Regions from separate parts of the Homo sapiens genome. Here regions 2, 3, 4 and 5 are each linked to region 1. The links are contacts of gene promoters, found by promoter capture Hi-C in blood cells and fetal thymus (Javierre and others, 2016). All regions are on one chromosome and are shown on one strand. Each heading gives the region's core, a stretch centred on a gene start or on the middle of the fragment in contact. The rest is flanking DNA. Distances are from core to core; before and after follow the strand shown.

Region 1 (4,487 bases), core at 850-3,349:
GAGTGACCCCTCCTTGCCTTTCCTCTTTAAAAACAAGATCTAAAAGGCTATGTTCTCTATGGGTTGGAGGTGTTGCCTCGATCTGTCAAGCACAGTCCAGGACTCAGAGGCTGTTGTGGTGAACTACTGTAGGCACCTGGAAGCCACCAAGGTGCCCTTTTCCCGCACTCTAGTCCCAAGTGAGGGAAATAAGCCTATGGTTAAGGGAGAACTATCTACCAATTTGAACTCATTAAAATACATAAATGTGTCCACTAGAAATGGCTGGCTGGAGAAGCCCAGTACCAAATCACCCCGTTCCTGAAACCCACCAGCCCCATGAAATAGTTCGCTAGAGAGAGATTTGCAATCTTTGAATTCGTTGACTATCAACCTGTATAGGTGCTCCGTGCCCCGAGATCTGAGAAAATGACAAAATACGTCTACTTCCCGGCCGGGCACAGTGACTCACGCCTGTAATCCCAATACTTTGAGAGGCCAAGTTGGGCAGATCACTTGAGGTCAGGAGTTTGAGACCAGCCTGGCCAACATGGTAAAACTCCCGTCTCTACTAAAAATACAAAAATTAGCTGAGGGTGGTGGTGGGCGCCTTTAATTCCAGTTACTCCGGAGGCTGAGCCACAAGAATCGCGGGAAGCGGAGGTTGCAGTGAGTCGAGATGGGGCCACAGCACTCCAGCCTGGGCGACAGAGTGGGACTCAGTCTCAAAAAAAAAAAAAAAGTATTTCCCAATTCTTCGTCAGTTTTTGCCCTCTCCCCACTTCGCCTTCTCCAGGCTCCTGAAAAGTATCTCCCCCAACCCTTTCTGTGTACACGGGGAAAACACGTGTTCATTTTTATTATGGCGCTGAAACCTACCCTTCTCTTCAAATCGCTTCTGTAGATCGTTCTAGTATAAAATGTGGCAAGAGGCTAAAGGGAGAGATATAGACCAGTTCTTTGGCCCTCGCTTTCCAACTTCAAGTTACACCTGTGAAACTCATGGGTCCTTCCACAGCCTTCAAAAACTAAGGGCGTCCCCTGTCCTCTCCCCAGATGTCCCTTCCCCATCGCCGGTAGCGAGTGGGAGACAGCTCAGCGCGGGGCAGGGGAGCACTGGGCCCGGAGATGGAAGGCAGCGTCAAAAGCGCCGCTGGAAAATCCCTGAGCGCTAACCGTTGCCTGTGTGAGCCCTTAAATCTACAAATTTCCAACACCTGTAGCCTTTGGGTTTCCCAGGACTTCCATCGACCCTGGCGGCAGAGAGGGCAGGCCTGAGATGCAGTGACTTGAGGGCACATGGCCAACTCTTGTCACTCCAAGATCACACTGGGGAACCAGACTGACTTCTCCAATTCTGAACTCGCCCCGGCCTCGGGCGGCTCAAAGGGCCTCCTCTGCCGCATCCCCGCCAAAACCAAACCGCCTGGCACAAGCCGGTAAGCAACCACCCTGCTGGGAGAGGGAAGGAAGAGTAGGCGCAGCCCTAGATCAATTTCCTTGCACTGCTTCTCCCAGACGGTCAAGTCAGCTGCGTCCCACCGAAAAGGGCGCATCGCCCACGCCCGAAACGCAGCCGCTGGGGGCCGAGAAATTATCCCCACCTGGCCCGAGGGCCAGGGACGCAGGAGCGCAGCAGCGTGGAGGGGCTCCGCGCTGGCCCGGCGCTGCCCGCGGTCCTGCCCTCGTTCCAAGGGCACGGCGCCGGTACGAGGACACCGACGCTGTGGCGCAACTGCCGTCCCCCGCAGCAATCCCGGAGCCCGGCTCCCGGCCGCCCCTCGGCCCTGCGCAGGCTGCCTCTCCCCGACGCGGAGTCCCACCCCGCTACCCGCCGCCCAGACGACCTCATAAACAAGTCCTCGAAGTGCGGAGGCAGGAGGCGGGGCGCAGCGCGGGGGCAGGAGGCGGGCCAGGGTCAGGGCAGAGGCTGCGGCCGCGCGTCCCCATTGGCCGGGACGCAGTGAGCCGCCCGGAGCTCGGCGCGGGCGGGGCCTGCCGGCGCGTGCCCGCCCACACACCCGCGCCGGTGCCCGCCCCCCGCCCTCCGCGCCCGCCCCGTGCCCGCCCCAAGCCGGCCGACGGAGTTTTTAAAGTGGGCTGCCGGCCGCGGGAGCTTTACACTCGCGAGCGGACCGCCACACGGGTCCGGTGCCCGCTGCGCTTCCGCCCCAGCGCTCCTGAGGCGGCCGTACAATCCTCGGCAGTGTCCTGAGACTGTATGGTCAGCTCAGCCCGGCCTCCGACTCCTTCCGACTCCCAGCATTCGAGCCACTTTTTTTTTTCTTTGAAAACTCAGAAAAGTGACTCCTTTTCCAGGGAAAAAGGAACTTGGGTTCCCTTCTCTCCGTCCTCTTTTCGGGTCTGACAGCCTCCACCCACTCCTTCCCCGGACCCCGCCTCCGCGCGCAGGTTCCTCCCAGTCACCTTTCTCCACCCCCGCCCCCGCACCTAGCCCGCCGCGCGCCACCTTCCACCTGACTGCGCGGGGCGCTCGGGACCTGCGCGCACCTCGGACCTTCACCACCCGCCCGGGCCGCGGGGAGCGGACGAGGGCCACAGCCCCCCACCCGCCAGGGAGCCCAGGTGCTCGGCGTCTGAACGTCTCAAAGGGCCACAGCGACAATGACAGCTGACAAGGAGAAGAAAAGGTAAGCGGGCGTCCGGGCCGATCAGGGGGCCGGTCCGAGGCCAGGGCCGGGCTGCGCGGGGCAGGCGCGACCGAGAGTGGTTGGGAGAAGAGTGCTGAGAGGTCTTCGGAGCTCGAGGCTCGGTTTGGAGGGCTGTGAGGGGGAGAGCATGTGCCCGGTTTGGGGGCGCGGATCAGCAGCTTTGCAGTGGAGACTTCTGCGGCTCGGAGGAGTCGGGGATTTGCGCGCACGGCGAGGCCAGGAGGCCGAGGGAGATGGCCTGGAGGTCGGAGGTGCTTCCGCGGTGCCTTTGAAAATCTCCCAGCCGCCCCGCAGCAGATTACCGTGGCCACCGGCGCTTGGAAATGTTTGTGGGTGCATGTCCTCGACTTTCTCTGGTCTCTCATTTTGGGGCAGCATCCACGTCTCTATTTTTCTCTGGATTCGCGGAGTCCTTCCAAATGCGCTCCTGTGCCCGCGCCGCGGCCCAAGTGGGCAAAGGGGGGCGGGAGGCGGAGAGCGGCTCAGGGACACGATCCTACCGAGGAGCCAGGACCCTTCAGAGCGCCCCGCTGCCGGGCTCCAGACCCCACCGAAGGTTGGAGAACCCACTTCCTCGTGCCGCACCTTGACTCTGGGGAGAGTAGGTAGTGAGTGACCTGGATTGCCCTGCGGGGGCAGATGGTTCGGTGTGTAGGAAGCGGACGGCAACACTGGATGTCCCTGGCAGGTCCGGGTGTCTGTCTCCGAAGAGGACAGAGAAGGGCAGCCACGATCTGCCCGCCTGCCCTCGCGAGCCTCTCGGCACTGGGTGAGAGGCAACTCTGGCCATTTCTTGCTGCCCTCTCGCCCTCTCCCGGCCGCTCCCAGTCCAGCCGGGCCCGGCGCTACCCGAGCGAGGGTTCGAGCCCTCTGCGCGGCCGCGCAGAAGCAGGCAGGGCCTCAACTTCTGCAAATGTGTGCGGCTCGCCGCCTGTCCCCTTTCTCCTCCTGTCTCCACCCGTGCGGCCCCAGTGGCCTGGAGCTTCCAGCCCCGCGCTTGGCCGCGGCTTGGCGAGGCTATGCTGCGGGAAGCTGGAATCCAACGCGCGGCCGGCTGAACCGCCTGAGCCGCGGGAAACCAGCGGCGGAGCGGCGGTATAGAGGTGCGAGGATGAGGAGGACCGACTCGCTAAGGGAGGGAGGTGACTGGCCGGGAGGGCTCACTGCCGAGGTTGATTTGCTCTTGTTCCAACTTCCACTACGGGACTGGAGCCAGAAACCGTGTATCCTCCGGTCGAAAGCAGCGGTTCCCACCTCGGGGCACCGATAAGGATTTGATAAACGGGAGCGAATCGCGCCTGTCCTGGCTCGGCGCCCGGGCCCTTCACTGCGGGATCGCTAGGGGAGGGGATTGGGCCCTGCTCCCCTTTCCTGGCCGTAGTCCCCCCTTTCTCGTCACCGTCGCGCCCTCAGACCCAAGACAAGTGAGGGAGCCCTGAGACTGCAGCCGGCACATTCCCAGGGCCCTCGGAGCAGTCCTGGGGTTCCATGTCTTTTGAAGGCAGCAGAGCAAGGAAAAGACTCTTAAGATTCCAGTGCGTTTTGTAAAAACCAATCATAATGCTAATAATGACTGAACCATCGAAAAGCAAAGTTATAGACAGCGCCTGCAGACGCTTTCGGGTCCGGAGCCGGGGAGGGAACTTGTGTATTTTACAACTGCGATGCCTATCGGGAATGTGGCAATCGCCGAGGTGGGGCCTGACAGTAATCTTGACAAATGTGTGAAGTGTCAGCTCCTCCTGCGCTCCTTAGCGCCGGGTTTTGTGCAGTTTTGTACCGTATATACCGAGAAACTTGGGAGCAGGGGAAAAATGATTTCGACACACCCAGCTA
Region 2 (4,487 bases), core at 1,945-4,444, 360 kb after region 1:
GGATGTGGCAGGTGGAACCCAACAAGGAGATTTACCTCCAATGGTAAGGAGGGGTTTCTGTGCGAGGAAATGAGCACCTGGGAACCCAGGCGGCCAAAGGTGATTGAATTGTTCCGCACAAACTGGGTTACCCCTCAGGGCTGATGTGGCCTGGAGAGACACCCCTAAAGTCATCATGTGCCTCTAAGATTTCGCTAGGAAAGTTTCCAAGAAAAGGCTAGATTTCCATTGGGCTTGAAAGGTGAGCCACCCACACTGGGCGCTCAGGTCTGCATTTCTGCTCCAGTGTTCCCTCAGTCCAATTTTACACAGCAGTAACACCCTCTTCCCCTCATGTTCTGTTGTGTTCTGCAGATCCTACAGGGGAACATCATGATAATGAAACCTTTGTGTTTTCCATGGCTGCTACAAAAAGACCAGATCAAACATTTTATGACACTTTTGTTTTTGTGTTTCTGTATGCTGCATGTGAAAATATCTATTACACAAATCAAGCACTCTGCTTTCCATTGCCAAGCATCTTTGGCACAAGAGCTGTAATAAGAAGTGTAATGAACATAAAACAGTTTTTAGAATCACTCCTTTGGTAGCTGGTATATGAAGCTGACAAGGCCCCCTCTGCCAAAGCTGCAGAAGGTCGGGCATATCCTTCCCTTAGCTCATATGGCTGCAGAGGAAGGAGGTGTCTTTCTTTGGGCTTCATCGCCAGGCAACCCACACACTTTGATGCTCACCTGTCTGCCTTGGGGGACTGGAGTTGAATGACTGCTTGTTTTGCTCCTGGGATCTGTGGGCTCCACAGTCGTCCCAGGCCTCCTTGCTTAATCGGACTCCCACCCATGGCATCTGAGTAGTTCCTCTTCTGGTCCTGTCACTATCATCTCCCTTTCTCTCTCTCAAGGCCTGTCCTTCTGTAGTACATCTTTTTAATAACTGGTAAGAGTCTCCTCCGACCTTCCCTTTGGAGACCTTTTCTCTTCAGTCAATCCCCGCCCCACCCAATCCCATCCCTTGTTCTCAGCGTCCTGCTCACAATCCCTTTTACTATGCCACTGACTTACCCAGACTGGCTAGGACATCTCTATTTGCATTGCATTGCAATATGGACTGAGGTGAGCTTGCCTATGAAATCAGCTGTGAACTTATTTTTTGTTAACTGTGATTTTAAAGGGCAGGGAGGAGAAAATGAATACTGAGGGAAGGAAAGGAGACCTAACATTTATTGAGTCCTTGGAGTTCTTGAGATAGATGCCTCATACACGTTAACTTATGCATCCTCACAATGATCTTGGGAGGTGTTATTTACTCCATTTTACAGAGGAGGAAATGGAGGTTAAATCACTTACACAGGCTGGGCACGGTGACTCACGCCTGTAATCCCAGCACTCTGGGAAGCCAAGGCAGGAGGATTGCTTGAGCCCAGGGGTTTGAGACCAGCCTGCCTCTACAAAAAAATAATAAGTTTTTAAAAATCACTGCCCAAAGTTCCAAAGCTAGTCAACAAAGAAACCGGTTACAAATTTGCTCTTCATTTAGTGTAAAAATCAATGAAACTTTTCTGAATGTTTCAGTCTTTAAAAAAAAAAAAAACATGAAGCATGCCATCCAATGAGCTGTGTGACCTGGGGCAAGTCAGTGGACCTCTCTGGGCAATAGTTTGAACATCTTTAATGTCAGGAGCCTGTGCTAGAAGGTCCTAACTCCTACAAGCTTTTAACCCAGGCTGTAATTGCCCTTGGGACTTCTTCACATCCAGTCCAAATCTTTAAAGAACCCAAGTCATGCTAACAAGAAATAAATGACTAACACTCTGGGAGCGCTAATCAGGAGCACTTCAGGAATTCCCTTCCTTTTTCCTGCCAGGCAGCAGTTTCACAGCCATTCTCCAGCTCTCCTAAATCAGGATCTGTGGGTGGACAGGAGGATGAGAAACACAGTGCTAAAGGGGCCTGGGTTTCTATGTCACCACCCCTGCCTACCCTCTGCCGCAGCCACTGTAGCCAGCGTGCCTCCACCTGGCTGTCTTTCCCTACACAGCCCGCATGCCCCCCATAGCTGGCTGCACTATGGGAAGGACTGATCCCCACCAGACAAGCTGGACTTTCCTGGCCTCCCTTGCACCCTGGGAGATCCTTGTCCATGTGGGGGAAATAAGATTATATTTATTAAAAACAATATAATTTATAGCCTCCGTGTACACACCTTGAAATTCCTGGGGCCATAAACTGGAAGGGCATTTCTTTAATCCCTGCAATTTACAGTTTTTACTCACCTGGCTTAGGTGGGGGGAAGAATCACACACATACATACCTGTTCACACATACACACATATGTATATGCACGTGTGTATACTGACTCTCTCCTTGGGATTTGCTAAGCCTCTCACATGAAGCCTCAACAGCCCTAGGGAACTGTGCTCAGGTCTCTGATTCCGCTGGAGCTTGCCAGCATTCCAGGGCCAAGTCAAGACTTTTGTAAATTGCTGAGAACTGAATTCTGACCTGGGAGCAAAGAGTGGACAAAGAATGGCACAGAGATGCCAAGGAAGCTGAGTTCAGGAGGGAAAGTGAAGCCTGCCCCACTCACCATGCTTGTCCTCTTCTCCCCAGCCTCCCAAACCCCAGCCCCTACACACACACCCGAAAAGAGGATTCAGCAACTGAATATGAGAGGGACAGACCTGGTGGAAGGCTTTGGTACCTGTGAAACTGTGCCCAGTTATTGATCTAGAGATTGACCACCAGAGGCAGTGTTATCATTTAAGACGAGTTTCCTTTGGCACTCACCATATCTTACAGCTTCTCCTATTTGTTCTTGTCCCAATCCTCTTCCGGCCCCCATCCAAGAAGCTCTGTGCAATTCAGCTAAATTTGTAGGACACTACTCCAGTTAGCACTGTGCTTAGGAATACAAAGTCCTTCTGGTACCAGGTCTGTTGCAAGATCTTGCACTTCTCAAGGTCACAGACTTGACAAGAACACTTGACTATGTTCTTGCTCCAACTTACAGAAACTGGAATGATGCAAGAAAGATGATGACAAGCTCATGCTCAAATAAAATGCCTGGGTCTTTCATCAAAACAGTGGCCAAGAAGCACATATTTGTACATTTTAAGTTAAAATAAGATGTTGAAGGCTGGTGTGTTTCATTGTCTGTTAACTGGTCAACAGTCCCAATTGCTTTTTTTTTTTTTTTTTTTTTTTTTAGATGGAGTTTTGCTCTTGTCACCCAGGCTGGAGTGCAGTGGTGCGATCTCAGCTCACTGCAACCTCCGCCTCCCGGGTTCAAGCAATTCTCCTGCCTCAGCCTCCCGAGTAGCTGGGATTATCAGCATGCACTACCATGCCCGGCTAATTTTTGTATTTTTAGTAGAGACCAGGTTTCACCATGTTGGCCAGGCTAGTCTCGAACTCCTGACCTCAGGTGATCCACCCACCTTCGGCCTCCCAAAGTGTTGGGATTGCAGGTGTGAGCCACTGCGCCCGGCCCCAGTTGCATTCAGTGAGAGCATGTGTGATGATACCTTAACTCCTATTTTTATTAACATCTAGTTTGTAAAGGACTACAGAGACACTGTGCTGAGCACCCTGGAAGGGTGGGGCTTGAGCCAGGCTGATGGACACGTGGGAGGACCAGGCTGGGGAAGGACTTGGGGCATGAACTTCTGTCTGGATATAGCACCAAGTGGGACAGGGTCGGGGGTCAGGGAGATTGGATTGGCCAGAGCACAGGAACTTGCAAAGAAATACACAACAGGACATAGGTAGGATAGAGAAGAGGCAAAAATATGTAAGTAGGCACCAGTTAGTGTAGCACATGATTTCATATACTGTATATACTTTAATTTAATCATAGCAACCATGTGAGAAGAGTACTATATCTTGACTTTCAGTTGAGGATTAGGCCCCAAAAAGGCTGCTGATACAACAGTACTTAATTTCAGGTGGGGCTAGGGACAGTGGTTCCCCAGCCTCTGACAGGGTTCGTCAAAGATTATTTATTTGCTTAATCTGAGCTACTTAGTGGTAAAGCCTAGATTCCATCCACCTTTTGTCTCCAGGCCTAGTGAATGCTCTTTTCATTTTACCTCACCTACCTAGTTACTACCATATTAACTTGCTAAAAATATTCTATGAAATGGATTCTATCTGCAAATAAATGTAAATAATATATGTGTCTTGCTGAAGAAGAATAAAATAAGCACTTGCGGCCCCACCACTCAATTTAAGGCATAGAATATTACCACCGCTATCGAAGGTAGCGTGAAGGTCACCCTTCAGAGGCGACCATGATGCTGAAATGTCTGCTGATGACTCCTTTACCCTTTACAATGTTGCCACATACATCTGCTGAATAATTTCCATTTGCCCCTTCAGCTCCGTCTCCAGGCTTCTCCATACTGCCGTGTGTCCCATGAGGCTGGCCCATCTGGACTGCACCAGGGAGCTCCCTTGATCCTTGGCTTCCTGGTGGGTTTGGCCAAAGTG
Region 3 (4,487 bases), core at 533-3,032, 300 kb before region 1:
TATTGATTTCCAGGTTAATTCCATTGTGGTCTAAAGCCAACATTGTATGATTTCCATTCTTTTAAATTTGTTAAGGTGTATTTTATGGCCCAGAATGTGGTCTTTCTTGGTGATTGCTTCATATCTTGAGAAGAATGTGTATTCTTCTGTCACCGAATGAAGTTGTTGATAGATGTCAGTTATATTCAGTTGATTAATGTTGCTGTTGATTCAGTTGATTAATGTTGCTGTTGATTAATGTTGCTGTTGATTTGATTAATGTTTCTGCCTGCTAGATCTGTTTATTTTTGAATAAAGGGGTGCTGAAGTCTCCAATTATAATAGCAGCATCATCTGTTTCTCCTTGTAGTACCATCAGTTTTTGCCTCACTTACTTTGATGCTCTGGTTTTAGGTACATACACGTTAAAAATTACGTCTTTTTTGAGAATTGACCTTTTTATCCCTAATAACTTTCCTTGCTCTGAAGTCTGCTGGGTCTGAAATTAATTTAGCTTTTCTGCTTTTTTGGGTTTAGTGTTAGCATGGTATATCTTACTCTATGTCTTTACTTTTAATCTGTATGTGTCTTTAAGGTGGGTTTCTTGTGAACAACATATAGTTAGTTGGGTCTTGTTTTTTTTGATCCACTCTAACAATCTGTCTTTTAATTGGTATATTTAGACTATTGACATTTGAAGTCAATGATTATTGATTATTGACATACTTGGGTTAATATCTACTATAGTTAGTACTGTTTTCTATTTGTTGCCCTTATTCTTTGTTTCTATGTTTGTCTTCCACTCATTTTCTGCCTTTTGTGGTTTTAATTGAGCATTTAATATGTTCGTATTGTTTCTCTCCTTTCTTAGCGTATCATTTATACTTTCTTTTTTACTTATTTTAGTGCTTGCTGTGGAGTTTGCAGTATGCATTTACAACAAATCCAAATCTACTTTCAAATAATATTGTGCTGCTTCATGACAGTACAAGTACCTTATAATAACAAAATTATCCTAATTCCTCCCTGCCATCCTTGTCTCATTACTATCATTTATTTCACTTACACATAAGCATACCTAGCATATATGAAATACTATAATTACACATAATCAGCACATTACTAATATTATGATTTTGGGCAAACCATTAGCTGTTAAATTAATTAAGAATAAAAATAAAAGTTTTTATTTTACCTCCACTTATTTCTTCACCTTTCTTTACCTGCTCTCTTTTTCATGTAGATCCAAGTTTCTGAGCTGTATCATTTGTCTTCTCTCTGAAGAACTACTTTTAACATTTCTTACAAGGCAGATCACTGCCCATAAATTCCTTCCATTTTTGTTTGTCTGAGGAAGTTTTAATTTCTCCTTCACTTTTGAAGGATAATATTGCAGGGTAGAGAATTCTAGGGTGGTGGGGTTTTTATCTCAACATTTTGAATATTTAACTTCTTGATGGCATGGTTTCTGAGGAGAGGTTGGATGTAATTCTTATTTTTCCTCCTTTATAGGTAAAACTTTTTTTTTTCCTTTGACTTCTTTCAGCGTTTTTTAAATAGTTGATTTTCTGTAGTTTAGAAATTATATGCCTTGGTATAGTTTTTTGTTGGTTTGTTTGTTTGTTTCTTTTTGGCATTTATCCTGTGTGGTGTTCTTCAAGCTTCCTGGAGCTGTGGTTTGGTTTGGTGTCTGACATTAATTTTGGGAAATTCTCTGTCCTCATTGTATCAAATATTAATATTTTTTTCTGTTCCTTTCTCTTTCTTCTCGTAGTGGTAGTCTCTTTTTGCATATGTTACACTTTTTGTAGTTATCACCCAATCCTTGGATATTTTTTCCAGTCTTTGTTCTCTTTATTTTTTCATTTTTGAAGCTGCTATGGATATATCCTGAAGCTCAGAGATTGTTTCTTCAGCCATGTCTAGACTACTAATAAGCCCATCAGAAGCTTTCTTCATTTCTGTTAGTGTTTTTGATCTCTAGCAGTTCTTCTGATTCTTTCTTAGCATTTCCATCTCTCTGCTTATACTGCCCATTTGTTCTTACATGCTGTGTACATTATCCATTAGAACCCTTAGCATATTAATCATAGTTGTTTTAAATTCCCAGTCAGATAATTCCAGCATCCCTGCTATATCTGAGTCTAGTTCTGATGTTTGCCTTGTCACTTCAAACTGGTTTTTTGGGGTTTTTTTGTTTTTTTTTTTCTTTGCCTTTTAGGATGCCTTACAGTTTTTTCTTGCCAGACATTATATACCGGGTAAAAGGAACTGTCAGTAAACAGGCTGTTAGTAATGTGAGTAACGTGTGGAGGGAGGGAAAGAATTACATAGAGCTGTGATTAGGGTGTTTTCATGAATTTGTGCCTTTGAGCTGTGAACCTCACAAGTGCTGTTCAGTCCTCCCCTGGCCTTAGATAGGACAGGATGGCTAGAGTGGGCTGGAGTTGGGGATTTCCTTGTCCCCAGATCAGTCGGGGTCTGATAAAACCTCAATCTCTGATAAAAAAAAAAAACAACCCTCAACCTCTGATAAAATAGTTTCTCCTAAGAGAAGCCCTCGTTAAGAAGAGCAGAGTGCTCTGGGCTATTTTAAAAAATGGTTCTCTCCCCACGTTCCCCACCCCCAACCCCCACACTGAAATCCTGAGATTTTCTCCATATTTACTATGAGAATCTAGTTGAGCTCCTGAAGAGCACGACTCTCAACTGAATGTACAAAAGTCTATCAACTCAACGACTGGGTCCCCCTTAGAGTTTTTGACTCTCAGGCTTGTCTGCTCTGAGCCCATTTGTTGGTTACAGTTACAGTTTTTCTACCCCAGCATTGTTCCTACAGAGGTTTCTGCTTCAGTAAGTTGCGATTCTCTGTATTCGCCTGGTTGGCTGTCTAATTCTGGGAGCAGCAGTTTCAGTTTGCCCTAGGACTTCACTTCACTTGGTGGATCTCGGAAGAGCTGTTGATTTTGTAGTTTGTTCAGCGTTTTGCTTGTTAGAATGGAGTGCTGCTGACTTCTAAGCCCCTTAGGTGCCAGACTTCAATGAGCAGGTTGTTTTCACCTGTGATGTCTTACACCAAGGACAACTAAGTGAAGAGGGAAAAGCAAAGGAATTCATTGAATTCAGACTGGAGATCTGAAAGATTCCCAGTCCCTGGAGGGAAATATAAATGTGACATTTACTTACTTATCTATATTTAGGGTATACGTAGAAAGGATGGCTGGAATGAAGTACTAGAAACAGTGGTTATCTCTGCAAGGTGGTTTAATGAATGATTTTGGTTTTGTATGATGGAAGACATATATATATATATATATATTTCTGTATTTTCCAAATTATATCTTAAATGAACATGTAATACTTCATGAACATATAATACAATCTCAAAGAAAAGAAGCAACATCTTAGGCCATGAACACTTATCTGTCTTTTCTCCATGTCTCCTTACAGTCTGCAAAATGAATGTTCACCGTCGATGTGAGACCAACGTGGCTCCCAACTGTGGAGTGGATGCCAGAGGAATCGCCAAAGTACTGGCCGACCTGGGCGTTACCCCAGACAAAATCACCAACAGCGGCCAGAGAAGGAAAAAGGTAACTGGCTGTTTGGTGGTGTTGCTGGAGCCCTTTTCAGGCTAGCATTTCTGTGCTGACTTCCAGAGGGTGCTCTGGAGTGAGGTAATAAGATTCCTGGGTTTGAGGTATTTTACTCAGAACTGCAGTACTTAAAGAAAAAAACAAAGATAGAAGCCAGGCAGGTAACATTAATGTCTTCTTGAGCTCCAAAAGTGGACTGAAAACACAGCAAGCCTCAAGGGTTACGTTTGCCAAAGAAACATAAACTTTGAGATGAGGAATTTGAAATTCCTTCTAGAAAAAGCTTAACAACTCCATACAAGGAAATGGACTTATCTGCTTCCAGAACTGGCATGAAAGCAATGTCAGTGTCTGAACTTCACCCTTGGTATCATTATAATGGAGATAAATGGGTGAAGAACTGGAACCACATTCTTTTCTAGGGAGGAAGCCAAGATGATTTGTGATCATACCAGCACTGAGCTGCCTGGGGAATATTGTTAATGTCTCACGACATGAAACATCTGGGCCATTCTTTGGAGACCAAAACTGTCTCTATCTCTGTGACATTCTAAATATCAGTAAGAAGAGATCCATTTGCCAAAATGTTATTTTGGTAAGTCAGGGCCCACAGATGTAAACAGGGGGAAAGGCATCCGTAGCATTTCATTTGTAGGCTCTTCTTTAGCCCTGGCTCCTAGCCTAGAAAATTTAAGAGGTCTTTGAAAAGTAAGTTATGAGAAAATTAGAACCATGTTAACAGGGCAGAAAATCCGGGTGAAGGGTGCAGTGGGGCGTGGCCCTCATTGCCCAGTGGCGAACATCCTCAAGCCCCCTGCTAGAAAAGCAAGTCTGACTCTAGGTACCTCTGCAATCTTCCGCCTAAATAGTCTCCCTGAATTTTGCCCTGAAATGTCTTCTAAAGGCATTTCC
Region 4 (4,487 bases), core at 1,387-3,886, 280 kb after region 1:
AGATGGGGTTTTACCATGTTAGCCAGGATGGTCTCGACCTCCTGGCCTCATGATCTGCCCACCTCATCCTCCCAAAGTGCTAGGATTACAGGCATGAGCCACCGCGCCCGGCCCATATATAGTCTTTTAAAATGTAGTATCAGGAGGCAAAAGAAAGCAAGAAAACTTTCTGGAGGACAGTTTTTCCTAAAGCAAAAAATAAATGGCTTTACTAACAAATCACTTCAGAAATTCCATGTATTCAGTTTTGTAATCTTGGGGAGAGAAGGAATTTCTAAATGTCATAAAGATAAAAGCCATAAATGAAAATATTAATGATTTCACTGCATAAAAACTTAATACCACATCAAATGCCAGAAATAAAATGAAAAGTCATATAACCTGAGATGGATGGCAGAAAAATGGGTTAACATCCTTAGTATACAGGAACCTCTTGCATATGAGTTAATCAGAAGCAGCCACAGATACCAATAGAAAAATGGGCTAACAATGAAAAATTCACCCCCCAAAATGCAGATTGCCATTGAAGATAGGAAATATGTTCAAACTTATTAGTAGTCAAATGTAAGCTCAATTTGCACCTATAGAATTGGCAAAAAATGAGAAATTAATTATAATACCCGTGTAGTAAAATGGACACTCTGTTGTACTATTGGTCATTGAATCAAAGCAGTCTTGACAGTATGCAAAATCCTTAAAATCATGGACACTTTTGATCAAGCAATTCCATATGTAAGAGTTTATCCTAAGCAAATCATTAGGATGTTGGTCAAAGTGTACAGTGTTAGGAGGAATACATTTTTTGAGATAACACTGCACAACATGGTAACTACAGTTAATAATGGTGGTGCTGGGCACGGTGGCTCACACCTGTAATCCCCGCACCTTGGAAGGCTGAGGTGGGTGGATCGTTTGAGCCCAGGAATTCGAGACCAGCCTGGGCAACATGGTGAAACCCCATCTCTACCAAAAAAAAAAAAAAAAAAAAAAAAAAAAAAAAAAAAATTAGCTGAGCATGATGGTGCATACCTGTAGTCCCAGCTACTTGGGGGGCTGAGGAAGGAGGATCACTTGAGCCCAGGAGGTGGAGGTTGCAGTGAGCCGAGATAGTGCCATTGCACTCCAGCCTGGATGACAGAGTGAGACCCTGTCTCAAAATAAATGAATAAATAAATAATGGTGGACTGCGTATTTCCAAATTGCTAAAAGAGTAAATTTTAAATGTTCTCACCACACAAAATGATAAGTATTTAAGGTGATAGATGTTAATTATGTTGATTTAATCATTTCACTCGTGTGTGTGTGTGTATATGTATATATAGAGAGAAAATATTGCTTTGTACCTTATATAAAATTATAATTTGTCCATTTATAATATTTAATAATAAAAGTAAATTATTAGGGACGTACTTAGAGCTACAAAGATGCTGAATTGTTTATAATGGCAAAAATTCCCTGCATCTATTAAAACTTCATACTATCTGTTAAGATTTCATATTTATTATGTAGCTAAAGGGAAAAAAGTAGTTGCAAAACAGTATGATCTCATTTCTAGACTCATCAGCATTTGGCACAGTTGCGTCCTTCCTGAAACTTTCTTCAGTTGGACTCTCTTGGTTTTTCTCCCCTCTCATTGGACTCTGCTCCATCTCTTTACCTCCTTGGTCCCTGGTTGGAGGGCCCCAGTGATGAGCACTCAGCTTTGTGGATGTCTTCTTCTATAGCTACACTCCCTAGGCCTAAATGAGCTTCTGTCAGTCTTGTAGCTTGCACAGTCTACAACCAAAGATTCCTGGATTTCCATCTCCAGCCTGGACCTCTTTCCTAAATTCTCAATTTGGTTATCCAGCTGTTTACTCAACAAGTCCATCTACATGGCTGAGTATCTCAAAATTAACATGTCTAAGATATGATTCTTCTTTTACCCTCCAAGCCTGTCCTCCCAGTTACTCAGGTCAGAAGCCCTCAGCTGGGTGCAGTGGCTCACACCTGTAATCCCAGCACTTTGGGAGCCCGAGGCGGGCAGAATTACCTGAGGTTGGGAGTTGGAGACCACCCTGACCAACATGGAGAAACCCCATCTCTACTAATACAAAATTAGCTGGGTGTGGTGGCACATGCCTGTAATCCCAGCTAGTCAGGAATCTGAGGCAGAACCGCTTGAACCCAGAAGGCAGAGGTTGTGATGAGCCAAGATCGAACCATAGTACTCCAGCCTGGGCAACAAGAGTGAAACTGTCTCAAAAAAAAAAAAAAGCCCTGAAGTCGTACTTGACCTTGCTCTTTCTCCCATACCACACATCTAGCCTTCGGCACAACATACCTTCAGAACATATCCAGAATCCAGACACTTTTTTCTAACTCTTCCCTCTATCACCTGGTTCAGACCTCCTCCATCTCTGGCCTGCTTTACTGGAATAGCTTCCAACTCACCTTTCTGCTTCTGTCTATGCCCCATGGTCATCTGTTCTCAACACAGCAGCCAGAGTAAGTCTTAAAAATGTAAGCGCAATCATGTCACTGCTCTGCTCAGAATCCTCCAGTGGGTCCCCAGCTCAGACTAAACGCCAAAGTCCGCACAGTGGCCTACAAGCCTCTGTTCCCTCTCTGCCTTACTCATTGTTCCCCAGGCCTCCTGGTCTCCTTTGTTGTTCCCTCAAAGTTCTACCTGAGAACCTTTGTACTTTTGTTGTTCCCTCTGCCTGGAATGTTCTTCCCTATGGACATGATTCATTCTTTCACTCTTTTCAGGTCTCTGCTCAAATACCACATCCTCAGTGTGATCTTGTTCCTTGACTGCTCCAGGCATGCTCCTGCATCAGGATCTATCTGCCTGGAGCTCTTCCCCTAGGTATCCCTCACTGCTCAAACTTCCCCATTGAGAAGCCTCCCCGGACCCCCACTACCATTGTCCTCAGCACTCCCCGCCTCCCTCACTCTGCTTTTTCCCCACAGCATTTGCAACCATCTGCTCTGTATTCCCTCCCCTGTGCCTCTTACCCAGCAGATGTCAGCACATGTGGACGCCACACAGCAGGGACTCTGCTCTTTCGTTCAGTTCACTGACATATCCCCAGGACCTAAACAGTGCTTGACATATAGTAGATACCCAGTAAATATGTGGTGAGTGAAATAATTTTTCATAGAAAGTCTGGAAGGACATATACTAGTATTTTAAAATCCCCTCTGGGGTTATGAACATGGATGATGAATGTATTCTTTTTGCATAGCTGTATTTTATAATTTTCTTTATAATGATGTGTTTATGTCATGCCAATTGTATAAACATGATCTTATATATTTGTGATTTTTTTTCTCCCTCCCAGATAGGAGCATGCTGCTATGTGGAATGTTCAGCTTTAACCCAGAAGGGATTGAAGACTGTTTTTGATGAGGCTATCATAGCCATTTTAACTCCAAAGAAACACACTGTAAAAAAAAGAATAGGATCAAGATGTATAAACTGTTGTTTAATTACGTGAGAAACATCTTCAGTGGCCAAGGAAACTGTCCATTTCTCTCAGAAAGCAAATGAAATGCTACAGCTATACCCAGACCTTTTATAGGTAATGAAGCAGTTCAAAACTTGAAAGAAAACAAAACCTGTCCTCAGAATTCTATAAAGTGTATTAAGAATGTTCCTTAAAGGTTTAAGAAGCAGTAAGCAGCATCTGAAGCCACAATCTATTATAAATACTTTATTTCAACTAGAAGGTACAATCTCTCAGGGGTTTCATAGTTTAAAAAGCTACAATCACATCATGTTGTAACTACGTAAAAAACAGAGCTGTAAATGGAACTGCTTGGCTTTGACCATACACATTTCTGCCCAGCCCTTACAGAATCTGCACAAAGAAATATCTCCCTTTGCTCCAGTTAATTGTTCTTGTATGTAAGTTGCTTTCTATTCCAGTATATCCAGAGTGGTGAAATAACAAGGCCAGCCACGTAGCCAAAGGTCGCTCCAAGCGTACAGGAGATGGGCCATACCTGAGGAGAGAATGTATGAGATCAAAAAAGAACAAATGTTTTATTATTACTTGAGCACAAGTGTAACCTAAATATTTCTATATTAAAGCTTAATGTGCTTTCTTAAAGAATGCCAAAAGTGTAATAAGGTCATAACTGCATTTATCATGAACACTAAAAATGTACACATTTTAGTTAATGTGCATTAAACTGTAACAAGGCTTCTGGCAATTGTAGATTTAGTTTGACGCTCCCCAAAGTGCATGAGACACATGCTAAAATTACAAATTAAAATTTTGGGTCAGACTTTGCCATAATGATAGACTCAATTTAGCTCTCTGAACTAGTTGGTAATTTTTTTTTTTTAATTCCCACTTTGGCTGTGTACATCAAATGAAATGAGAAGTGTGTATGCTGACCAAACCACAAGAAACTTTCTTTAAGTTGTGTTAAAGAGGAAAGACCTAGAATCCAAGCGTGTTACATGAAAATTGTAACAGAGCAGCTGCTTCCACCTT
Region 5 (4,487 bases), core at 1,255-3,754, 270 kb before region 1:
TGGGGTGACTGAACTACTTACGTGAGTTGCCCAGGGCACCCTGGAGTAATTCTTTAAGGGTGGTATTCCAGGCAATCTGAGTTGTATTGGGAAAGCAACTGATGGAAAAACAGACCCTCTGCTTCCTGTTATGAGGACATTTTTTTTTTTTTTTTGCAGAGGCAATAGGAAGTTGAAGCCTCCACTTTTGACCTCATTGGAGCATTTTGTTTTTACCATGACGTTCCAGGGAGAATGCCAGGAAGGATCATGGGCAAAAAGAATTCTCTCAGTCCGCCTCCTTAGTGTGGCAGGAGGTACAAATTAATTCCTTTGTTGGGTCAGTATGATATTCACCTGGGATTCATCAGCAGTATGTAATCCATTTTATCGGGAACACTTGTGTGCGGGTTGCTAGGAAGCTAAGCTTATTACCTGGCTCTGGCTCTTAGAGCTGAGCCTGCTGGTGCTAACAGATTTGGGCCTGAGAAGTTTGTGGCCTTCCCTGGACTTCAGAAGGAGGGTGGAAGGTCCAGTAAAGTGTCCAAGGATGAGAGTGAATGGGGAAAATGACTTTTGTTCTCAGTGTTTCTTTCACCATTTATCCAACCTATCCCCATGTGTTTTTGGTATTTTTTTTTCTTTTTCAGGTAAGAGTTTAAATCCAACCTCCTTTATCAAGCCCCAGTTTATGAAAACTTTCTAGATTCACCAGTGTTAACACTAAAAACATACCAACACAACCAAAGGAAACACGTTGTCATGAATGGTGAAATACTTCTACCATCCAATTTGCCCAGAGTTTTATTCCCTTGGGAGAGCTTCTTAAAGATCTAGGAAGTATCTTTTGATGTACATAACTCAGAGATTAAACACACTTCACAAAGTATAGGTAGGCTCCACTGAAAGAAAGCTCGAAAATTTGACTGTAAAAAAAAACAAATGTAGGTGTGATTGTTGACCTTGCAAAAGCTAACTCCTATTATAAAATGTTTACAAAAGAATTCACGAGAGAACTCCCGGGGTTGGCAAGATCCATTTGGATTGCCAGACGTGGTGACTGAGGTGCAGCAGTGCTAGGCAGAGTAACTGAACCCTGAAGTGTTAAAAAACAGCTGTGCAGGAGCAGTACCAGGGAACGTAAGACATCTGGAACACACACCCCCAGCCAGGGACGAAGTGTTCTGCTTCAGTATACATTAGACAACCAGTATTTTTTTTAGTACCTGGTACGGTATGTCTTCAACTTAATATCAGGTATTCCAGGGATAGAAAAAGACACAATCCTTGTTCAAAGAACTGCTGGTCCACCTAGGGAGGTTAGGCTAATAGGTGAACCAGAGAATGAAAATCAGAGGAAGAGATGAGTGGGCTGACTAGTAGGTATACTCCTACAAATTGGAGGAAACTGAGGCACAAGCGTTGAAGTGCCCCTTCCGGGTCACATACACGCTCATGTGCTCCCTCTCTCTCCCTTGCTCTCACTCTCTCCCTCTGTCACTCTCTCGCTGTCTCATAAGGGACTTTGTCACAGGAATAAGAACCCTGGGTTCCACCTACCCCACAGGAGCACAGTGGCAAGGTCCCATCTGATTCAAGGAAATTGGCTTTGTAGGGTTGTTATTGTGTGAAAAGGAGCAAGCCCTGTCCAAGGCAGATCTGGATGTTTGTGTAGTTCAGATCCATTTAGCTCCCTGGCCAGTGTTGATCTCTGCTGCTTTAAACCACATTAATCTCTGGGAGGGCAAACTGACCCATCACTATGGGAACCAGAGTGAGCCTGTGTCCTGGGTACTAGGTAAACACTGGAAGTCAGTACCTGGTAGACGCCATAGGCAGAAGCAAACTGGGGCCTTCCAAAAGCTGAAAATGATCAATAGATATGATTCTTGTGCATCCATATCCCAGGAAGGAGGGATTCTGTTTAGCTCTTTGAGCTAATTGTTAATTTTCAAATCTTGAAGACACTATTGAGCATGAAATGCAGATATTCAAATACCCCTTTCTCCTTGGTAGGAAATGGTACTAACAGTCTGCAGGATCATGGGAGTAAAAAGCGCAGTCTAAGCACATAGGCATTCATGGGGAGAGTATACGAAGTTAGAGGGTATAAAAGCTATGTGGATGGTTCAAAGATTAAGGTAAAGATGTGAAACCTAAAATCTCAATTCTCTAGAATGGGACATTTAGACTTCATGGGTAGAGGAGGACAAGAATCGGGAGTATGGGCAGTTAGACAAAATCAGAAAGAAGCGTAGAAGACTATGCAGAAACATTAAGAATGTAGTGGTGGAAATGTTACCTTTTTGGAAGATGGTATCATGCAGAAGGTTTGAATGCATTTCTCTGATCTTTAATTCTACCAAAAGTGTCACTCTGATGTAAGAAAATATTTAGGTTGAAAAGGTGAGGAACTGGCCACAGCTTTCCTAAATGTGGTTGACAACCTGTATCCAAGAGAACAGAATGAATTGGTCGATTTGCTGTGTCATGACATTTTAGGGATGTTTTTGGGATGTTTAAGGGATGTTTTTGAAGGGGATTTATAAGAGAGTAAATGAGACCCCTTAAACACAGAGATCTGAGGCATAAGAGCTGGTAATTTTAAAAGATACACAGCTGACTACAGAAGGAAAGAAGCAAGTCCCAGAATAGACATGTAGCATATTTCCATTTCTATAAAACCCCCAAACAGGCGAGACTAAACAATATTCTTAGGAGGAAACACATGGGTGATGAAACTGTAAAGAAAAGCAAGGGGCCGGGTGTGGTGGTTCATGTCTGTAGTCCCAACATTGGGAGGCCAAGGCAGGAGGATTGCTTGAGCCCTGGGAACATAGTGAGACCCTGTCTCTACAAAAAATTGTTTTAAATTAGCCTGGCACGGTGATGTGTGCCTGTTGTCCCAGCTACTCTGGAGGCTAAGGTGGGAGGATCGCTTGAGCCTAGGAAGTCAAGGCTGCAGTGAGCCATAATCATGCCACTGTACTCCAGCCTGAGCAACAGAGCAAGACCCTGTCTCAAAAATAAATAAAAGAATTAGCCAGGGATGGTGGCACACACCTGTAGTCCCAGCTATTCGGGAGGCTGAGGTAGGAGGGTAGGTTGAGCCCAGGAGGTTGAGGCTGCAGTGAAGCATGATTGTACCACTTGTACTTCATCCTGGGCATCAGAGTGAGACCCTATCTCAAAAAAGAAAGAAAAAGAAAAGAAAAACAAGATCATGATTACCAGGGAAGTCCAAATAGGGACTGAATGAGGATGGGGAGAGAGGTTGCAATTAAAGAGAGTTAAAGGGGTTTCAAAGGCCAGCAACCATGTTCTATCTGTCAAGGTGGGTCACAGCTAAAAGTGAGTCTTATTTGATCTTTAAAATGCATATGCATATTTTACATATTCTCATTCGTAGGTATATTTTACAATAAGGCAGGGAAGGGGAACAAGAACATGAAAGCATCCAAACTGTCATAGGCACTAGCATTTTAAATGATGACATGCTCTCCAAAAATTCGAACTTTAACAAAAAACTGAGCTTGTGCACTACCTCTGTGTATCATTCTTTTGCCACTAAAGTTTCGATTTTCCTGTTCTTTTGGCAGTATGATCTGTCTCAAGGACAAGAAGTGTGGTGACTGGTCCCATGGCCTATTTAGCTGGAAGAATGAAGCGTAGTCCCTATCCTCTTTCCAAGACCAAGGCCAAGATGGGGCTCAAGACCAGGGGGTTATCTACAGAACTGCTGGCCCACCTTCCACCTACCCTGGGGGACCTCCCTCTTGAAGGTTGGGATTCTTTTTTTTCTTTTTTTTTTTTGAGATGGAGTCGGGCTCTGTGGCCCAGACTGGAGTGCAGTGGCAAGATCTTAGCTCACTGCAGCCTCCGCCTCCCGGGTTCACGTGATTCTCCTGCCTCAGCCTCCCGAGTAGCTGGGATTACAGGCTCCCACCACTGCACCCGGCTGACTTTTGTGTTTTTAGTAGAGACGGGGTTTTGCCATGCTGGCCAGGCCGGTCTCAAACTCTTGACCTCAAGTGATCCGCCCGTCTCAGCCTCCCAAAGTGCTGGAATTACAGGCGTGAGCCACCGCGTCCGGCCGAAGGTTGGGATTCTTAAAGAGTAACCTAGCCCAGCCTCACTCTTTCAGCAAGCAGCTCTGAGTTGGGGGGTAAACTTTCTTCACTGCCACAACATTTGTGTTTTGCAACATGTTTTTAAACCATGTTTTATAACTAAGAAGATGCCAAACATTTCATTTGGCAGTTTGTATTATGAAAACCATAGTTATCTTTCCATTTTCACCTATAAAGTGATGTTATAAATTGAACCTTTTAAACTGTAGATGTGTGTGTTCTTTCTAGATTCTGGCATATTCTATAGGGGACATAGCACTCACTGTGCTGCCCTCCCCACCTGCCACCACTGGTTGAAAATAACAGCTTTCCTTGCTGCCATCACATACGTAAATGTAACTAACATTTATAGAGTGTTTTCTATAAGCCAAGAATGAT

What was found. The method cuts DNA at HindIII sites, captures the fragments that hold promoters and counts their contacts. A CHiCAGO score of 5 or more calls a contact.
Region 2: a contact is called between a fragment that was not itself captured here and the fragment with the promoter of EPAS1 in region 1, in 1 of 17 cell types (neutrophils). The highest score is 7.1, in neutrophils.
Region 3: a fragment that was not itself captured here is called in contact with the fragment with the promoter of EPAS1 in region 1 in 5 of 17 cell types (M1 macrophages, endothelial precursors, M2 macrophages and 2 more); the score reaches 10.6 in M1 macrophages.
Region 4: a contact is called between the fragment with the promoter of RHOQ-AS1 here and the fragment with the promoter of EPAS1 in region 1, in 2 of 17 cell types (neutrophils and naive CD8 T cells). The highest score is 8.4, in neutrophils.
Region 5: a contact is called between a fragment that was not itself captured here and the fragment with the promoter of EPAS1 in region 1, in 3 of 17 cell types (endothelial precursors, M1 macrophages and M2 macrophages). The highest score is 9.8, in endothelial precursors.

Annotation. Positions count from the first base shown.
Region 1 is chr2:46,295,308-46,299,794 of GRCh38, forward strand. It overlaps EPAS1 (endothelial PAS domain protein 1), which reads left to right and starts at 2,100. Exons shown (of 16, transcript NM_001430.5): 1 at 2,100-2,630. The coding sequence starts at 2,605. RefSeq lists silencers at 1,554-2,133, 2,364-2,693. The HindIII fragment of the contact is 15,577 bases long and covers 1-4,487 here.
Region 2 is chr2:46,654,412-46,658,898 of GRCh38, forward strand. LOC105374584 (a long non-coding RNA gene) reads left to right here. Exons shown (of 2, transcript XR_940058.3): 2 at 1-578. Among named protein-coding and RNA genes, the nearest start is that of CRIPT, 39 kb to the left of the region's middle. The HindIII fragment of the contact is 2,972 bases long and covers 1,709-4,487 here.
Region 3 is chr2:45,997,975-46,002,461 of GRCh38, forward strand. It overlaps PRKCE (protein kinase C epsilon), which reads left to right. Exons shown (of 15, transcript NM_005400.3): 7 at 3,430-3,572. Among named protein-coding and RNA genes, the nearest start is that of EPAS1, 300 kb to the right of the region's middle. The HindIII fragment of the contact is 288 bases long and covers 1,639-1,926 here.
Region 4 is chr2:46,577,602-46,582,088 of GRCh38, forward strand. It overlaps RHOQ-AS1 (RHOQ antisense RNA 1), which reads right to left and starts at 2,637. Exons shown (of 2, transcript NR_104182.1): 1 at 2,434-2,637. It overlaps RHOQ (ras homolog family member Q), which reads left to right. Exons shown (of 5, transcript NM_012249.4): 5 at 3,327-4,487. The coding sequence ends at 3,482. It overlaps PIGF (phosphatidylinositol glycan anchor biosynthesis class F), which reads right to left. Exons shown (of 6, transcript NM_002643.4): 6 at 3,336-3,990. The coding sequence ends at 3,877. The HindIII fragment of the contact is 6,203 bases long and covers 1-4,076 here.
Region 5 is chr2:46,024,168-46,028,654 of GRCh38, forward strand. The region is part of intron 10 of PRKCE (protein kinase C epsilon); the gene reads left to right. Among named protein-coding and RNA genes, the nearest start is that of EPAS1, 270 kb to the right of the region's middle. The HindIII fragment of the contact is 4,201 bases long and covers 405-4,487 here.